Linked DNA regions of Homo sapiens: region 1 is linked to region 2. Evidence: promoter capture Hi-C in 16 types of primary human blood cells and fetal thymus (Javierre and others, 2016). All regions are on one chromosome and are shown on one strand. Each heading gives the region's core, a stretch centred on a gene start or on the middle of the fragment in contact. The rest is flanking DNA. Distances are from core to core; before and after follow the strand shown. Region 1 overlaps ADPGK (ADP dependent glucokinase). Region 2 holds the start of ARIH1 (ariadne RBR E3 ubiquitin protein ligase 1).

Region 1 (3,235 bases), core at 44-2,543, 290 kb before region 2:
AAATATACTTGTGTAATCCCAGCACTTTGGGAGGCCGAGGCAGGCGGATTACCTGAGGTCAGGAGTTCAAGACCAGCCTGGCCAACATGGTGAAACCCTGTCTTAGCTAAAAATACAAAGAATTAGCTGGGCATGGTGGCAGGCGCTTGTAGTCCCAACTACTCAGGAGGCTGAGGCAGGAGAATCGCTCGAACCCGGGAGGCGGAGGTTGCAGTGAGCCGAGATTGCGCCACTGCACTCCAGCCTGGGCGACAGAGCAAGACTCCATCTCAAAAAAATATATACTTGTGGAATTAGGCAAGAATTAGGAATAGTTATTTTATTTTGTCAAATGCTTTTGTCAAATTCTGCATTTACTGAGGTTATTGTGTGGTTTTTTGTTTTTTAGTTTGATATATGGTAATTATATTGACTTTCACATATTAAACCAACCTTGCATCTCTAGGATAAAGCTTACTTTGTTCTGATGTATTCATTATCCTTTTCACATATTCAGTTTACTAAAATTGTGTTTAAAATTTTTACATCAATGCCCAAGAATAATATTGGTCTGTATTTTTCTTTTCTTGTAATGTCTGTGGTTTTGCTGTCAGGGCAATACTGGCCTTGTAGAATAAGTTGGAAAGTGTTTCCCCCTCTTCAATTTTTTTTTTTTTTTTGAGAGACAGGATCTGGCCTTGTCATCCAGGCTGGAGTGCAGTGGCATGATCTCGGCTCACTGCAACCTCTGCCTCCTGGGCTCAAGCCATCCTCCCACCTCAGCCGAGTTCCTGAGTATTTAGGATTGCAGACACGTCACCACAGCCAGCTAATTATTTTGTATTTTTTGTAGACTTGAGGTTTCACCATGTTGCCAGGCTAGTCTCAACTCCCGACCTCAAGCGATCCGCCTGCCTTAGCCTCCCAAAGTGCTGGGATTACAGGTGTGAGCCACCACACCTATCTTCTCTTCAATTTTTTTTTTTTCTTAAGATGGAGTCTCGCTCTGCCCAGACTGGAGTGCAGTGGTGGCGATCTCAGCTCACTGCAATGTCCGTCTCTCAGGTTCAAGTGATTCTCATGCCTCAGCCTCCCGAGTAGCTGGGACTACAGGTGTGTGCCACCATGCCCAGCTAATTTTTGTATTTTTTAGTAGAGAGGGAGTTTCACTGTGTTGGCCAGGCTGGTCTCCAACTTCTGATTGCAAGTAATCCACCTGCCTCAGCCTTCCATAGTGCTTGGATTCATCCAATACACCTGGCCCTTTCTTCAATTTTTAAAACAGAGTGAGTGTCGCATTGGTATTGTATCTTCCTTAAATGTTTATAGAATTTAAGCCTTCTAGTGAAGCCTTCTAGGCCCAGGGTTTTCTCTGTAGGAAGATTTTAAATAACTGATTTCTTTAATAGATATAGGGAAATCCAGATTTTCCTTTTTTTTTTTTAAATGAGCTTTAGTAGTTTGTATCTTTCAAGGAATTTGTTTCATCTAAGTTGTTGGATTTATTGGCATAAAGTTAATTATGGTATTCTATTATTCCTTTAAGATCTCTACAATTTGTAATGATGTTTTCCTTCTCATTCCTGATATTGGTCATTTGTATCTTCTTTTTTTTCCTGATCAGCTTGGCTAGAGGTTTATAAATTTTATTGCTCTTTTTAATAAGTAATTAGCTTTTGGTGAATTTATTTTTCTCTGTTTTTCTATTTTCATTGGATTTTGCTTGCTTCAGATTTGACTTGCTCTTTTTCTAGTTTCTTAAGGTGAGAAGCTACAATCATTGATTTGAGACCTTTCCTGTTTTCTCATATAGGGGTTTAGTGCTATAAATTTCCCCTTAAGTACTGCTTTAGCTGCATCCCAAAGATTTTGATGGATTATTTTTATTTTCATTCATTTCAAAATACTAATATCCCTTTGATTTATTGAGATGTGCCATTTAATAGCCCATTCATGGACTACTTAGAGGTATGTTATTTAGTTCCTAAATATTTGGGGATTTTCCAGATGTCTTTCTGTTACTGATTTCTATTTCAATTCCAGTATGGTCAGAAAATATGCTTTCTATGACCTGAATCCTACTAAGTTTTTGAGACCTTTTTCATGGTGCAGAATATTCTATCTTGGTGAGGTTCTGTGTGTACTTGAAAGCTTCAAGAATATACATAAGCCTTTCTGTTGTTGGGTCGAGTGTTCTGTAAATGTCAATTAGATGAAGTTGATTGATAGTGTTGTTCAAGTCTTCTATATTCTTATTGGTTTTTTTTTTTTTGTCTATTTGATCTGTCAGTTATTAAGAGGTATGTTGACGTCTCCAACTGTAATTTTGGATACTTGTCTATTTCCTTTATAGTTCTGTAACTTTTTGCTTTATGTATTTTGAAACTCTTATTAGGTACATAAATGTTTAGGATTGTTACATCCCTTTAATGAATTAATTCCTTTATCATTACTAGGGATAAATAAAATCATTTCATAATATTCTTTGCTCTGAAATCTATTTTGATTGAAATAGCCATTCCAGCTTTCATTTGATTAGTATTGGCATGGTATATCTTTTTCTGTCCTTGTGCTTTTAATCTATTTGCATCTTTTTACCTTAAAGTGTATTTTTTATAGACAGCGTATAGTTGGGGCTTGCTTTTTAATCCACTTTGACAATCTCTGCCTTTTAATCGGAGTGTTTAGACCATTTACATCTAATGTGATTATTGATATATCAGGTTAGGTTTAAATCTAACATCTTGCTATTTGTTTGCTGTTTGCCCCATCTCTATCTTTGTCCCTCTTTTTCTGTACTCTTTTGGATTATTTTCTATGATTTCATTTTATCTTCTCTGACTTTATTAGGTATAATTCTTTTTTTCTTAGTGGTTGCATTAGGGTTTATACTGTACATCTTTAGCTTATCACGGTCTACTTTCAAGTGATAACAGGCATACCTCAGAGATACTGCATGTTTGGTTCTAGACGACTGCAATAAAACAAATACTGCAATAAAATAAAACGCATGAATTTTGTTTCCCAGTGCATTAAAAGGTATGTTTACACCGTACTATCGTCAAGTAAGTGTGCAGTACCATTATGTCTGAAAAAAAGTGTACACAATTTTAGAGTGCTTGGTTGCCAAAAAATGTTAACAATCATCTGAGCTTTCAGACGGTCATAATCTTTTTGCTGGCAGAGTGTTTTGCCTTGATGTTGATGGCTGCTGGCTGATCAGGGTGGTGGCTGAAGCTTGGGGTGGCTGTGGCAA
Region 2 (3,057 bases), core at 192-2,691:
TCCAATATTAGACAACACTGCGTTTTGTTGTTGTTTTAGCTACAAGGAAGGGTATGCAATATGCAGTAACTATTCCAACAGCTTCAAGCAAGTCATCTGCTACGACTAGAAAAAGTAGCAATTAGGTCCCAAACAGCAAAGACATAAAAAAGATGTAAGCAGAAGCCTCACCATCTGAAAAGAAGGCCCATCAGCACCTCTTCCGAGAAATACTTCCCTTCCCCCACCTTTAAGTAGGCACTTGAGACTGCCAAGATCCATTTCTTTATTAACTGGTGCCCACTTGGGGCAACTGTACACCAAGCTGCTCTTAGGCCTACTCTAATCCCTTCCAAAAGTGCTCAAATGAGGCTACGGCCGGGGTAAGTCCCGTCAGGGCCCAATTCTTCCTGACTCCTCTTCTCCACCCCACCTCCTCCGCCCCGCCCCAGTAGGCGATCGCCCGGCCAGAGAAAGGACACCCGGCCCAGGGACTGGCAGAAATTGCCCGCAAGAGAAGGCTTAGGCGACCGAAGGCCTCCGCCATAGCAGGACTTGGGAAGCACCGCCCCCAGCGCACCTCCCCACACCCGGCTAATCGGCGAACCTCTGCTTTCGACACCCTCTATCCCCAGCAGAGGCAGCGGAGAAGACAAGGCCGGGAGGCACCGGGCTAGGCTGCGCACCAGGCCCAGGCCTGTCCCTCGGGACCGCGCGTGCCGCCTGAATCCGCTCCCCCGTCGGGCCCGGTCCAGCTGGCGCGGCGGCCACCCTCACCTGGATGACCTCGTTGACCTCCCGGATACATTCCACCATGTGTTGTAGAATCTGCTCGGCCGTGAGCACCTCGTAGCGGTAATCCTCCTCCTGCTCATGCCCCGGCCCGCCACCACCACCGCCGCCGCCGCCGCCGCCGCCACCGCCGGGCCCCAGAGCGCTGCCGCCGCCACCGCCCGTCTCCCCGCACAGCAGTCCGTCCCGCTCCCCGCCGACGCCCAGCCCGGGCTCCACCAGCTCCACCTCGCCCAGATCCAGGGTATCATCGTCCGGCTCGTCGTCGTCTTCGTCCTCCTCCTCCTCGGCGCCGCTGTCCTCCTCACTGCACTCCTCGTCCTCGTCGAACTCGTAGTTGTAGCCCTCGTCCGAGTCCATGGCGCGACGCGCGGGGGCCCGGCGGACGCTGGCCGAGGCGGGGAGAGGGCGGGGACGCCGAGGCCCCGGCTCTCGCTCCGGCTCCGGCTGATGTCCGGACGCAGGCCTGGCTCCGGCCCCGCGAGCCGCGGCTCCTCCCCAGGAGCGGCGGTTGGCGTTTGACGGCTGGTGGCGGCGGGGAGGGCGCGGAGGAGGGAGGGAGGGAGCGAGGGGGCCGCTTGCTGCCCGCCTCAGTCAGACGCGGCTCCGCTCCGGCCTCCGAGAGAAAACAGTCCCCAACGCCACCTCCACGGCCGCTGCTATCGCTACTGAGCCAACAAAGGGGCGTGCGTCACCGCGTCGCGCTGCGTCGTCGCGTCACTCCTCTTTGCGTCACTGCGCCCCGCCCCACCGCCCCTGCGTGGAGCCCGGGGAGACCCCACGGCCCGGCCTTCCTGGGCCTGGGACCCGAGGGGAGCCGAGCGGGAATTGCTTTCCTGGTTCGATCCGCTGCCGCTGTGAGGGCCGAGCGGAAACCCGTAGACCTTTTATGTGAAGAGATTGCGGCCTCCTGGTCACCAGTCACCGAGAGAGGGACCCCTGGACCGCCTACGTGGTGGTGTCTGCCGCAGGCCATAGGGATCCAGCCCACTTAGGCAGTCCCTTGGGGACGCGGCCTTCCCTCCGGAGCGGAAAGGCGCTTCCCGCCCGCCCTGCGGTAATCCCGGAAGCCCTCAGCCGTTAAGCTAAAATTTCTGTTGCTTTGGCTACTGATGGAAACCTGTTGTAAGTGGAACCTCTAAACTGTATGACAGGTGAACCCACTTTAGGTAGCTGTGTGATTCTGTCCACTTGTACAGACGTGCAGTGGTTTTTAAGTCTCCTATAATGACGTCATTTTAAAGAGGCATTTCCTCCACCCCGCTGACAAGAGCGCCTCTTGAGGGCCCTAAACAATGTAAACAGCGATGATTTTCATGAATTGAGCACTGTGTAAGGGCTTTACATATATTCTGTCTCATCTTCACGGAGCCATAGTACCCATTTTATACCTGAGGAACCTGAAGCTCAGAAAGGAAAAGGGACCTGGCCAAGACCACATAACCCTTGCCCTATTTTAACCGCTGGATGCCCCAAAACATGAATCATAAAAATGCTTTGTAATGTAGATATATTATGTACTATGTAGTACATAAAAGACATGAATGCTTCAACAAAATACAGGCAATAATAGAAATATCTACAAGGGCCAAATGTAGCCAGAGAGATAATGCTTGAATCTCATCTGAAAGTGTGCTATGTGAGCTGAGTGTTGATGAATGGCTAGGAGTTCAACAGAGAAGGTAGGGAAGATGGTCTAGCCGCAGAGAACAAGCAAAAGCGCAGAAGGTGTCAAGTAAGTAATAGTTTGGGGAGCTTAAAGTGCATGGAGGGTACATGGCAAAATATTAGGCAAGTTAGTCAGGGGTCATGTCAGTTAAGAGCATTTTATGCCTAAGAGTGGGCTTAAATCTTTGCAAACAGGACATGCGAGCCAGAGAAGTGTTATGAAGGAAGAAGAGGCATAAGAAGGCTCCCTCTTGAGATAATCTGAAGAATTGGCCAGATTGAAAACCTTTTAAAATCAAAACCCCTGATTTGTTGATAAATCTTACTGTTCAACCTATAGGTTCCCTTTGGAAATTGATTTTGAAAAGTGAAAAATTCCATTATAATGTTAAAAAGCCTCTTCCAATTTGTCCATTTTGTAAGTTTTAAAATACCGATAATTATATTTCTTAACCTCAGGATTTACAAAGTAAAGCATTTAACCTCAATACTGGTAGTCTAGGTTTTTGTTGTTGTTGTTGTTGTTTGTTTTTTTCTTGAGACGGAGTCTCGCTCTGTTGCCCAGATTGGAGTACAGTGGTGATCTCAGCTCACTGCAGCCTCTGCCTCCCAGGTTCA

Evidence for each region. The method cuts DNA at HindIII sites, captures the fragments that hold promoters and counts their contacts. A CHiCAGO score of 5 or more calls a contact.
Region 1: a contact is called between a fragment that was not itself captured here and the fragment with the promoter of ARIH1 in region 2, in 1 of 17 cell types (fetal thymus). The highest score is 7.3, in fetal thymus.

The regions. Positions count from the first base shown.
Region 1 is chr15:72,766,400-72,769,634 of GRCh38, reverse strand. The region is part of intron 3 of ADPGK (ADP dependent glucokinase); the gene reads left to right. Among named protein-coding and RNA genes, the nearest start is that of ADPGK-AS1, 15 kb to the left of the region's middle. The HindIII fragment of the contact is 1,678 bases long and covers 455-2,132 here.
Region 2 is chr15:72,472,714-72,475,770 of GRCh38, reverse strand. It overlaps ARIH1 (ariadne RBR E3 ubiquitin protein ligase 1), which reads right to left and starts at 1,441. Exons shown (of 14, transcript NM_005744.5): 1 at 757-1,441. The coding sequence starts at 1,131. It overlaps TMEM202-AS1 (TMEM202 antisense RNA 1), which reads left to right and starts at 1,532. Exons shown (of 4, transcript NR_135678.1): 1 at 1,532-1,896. RefSeq lists enhancers at 318-527, 1,978-2,077 and silencers at 1,078-1,307, 1,350-1,546, 1,398-1,737. The HindIII fragment of the contact is 10,721 bases long and covers 1-3,057 here.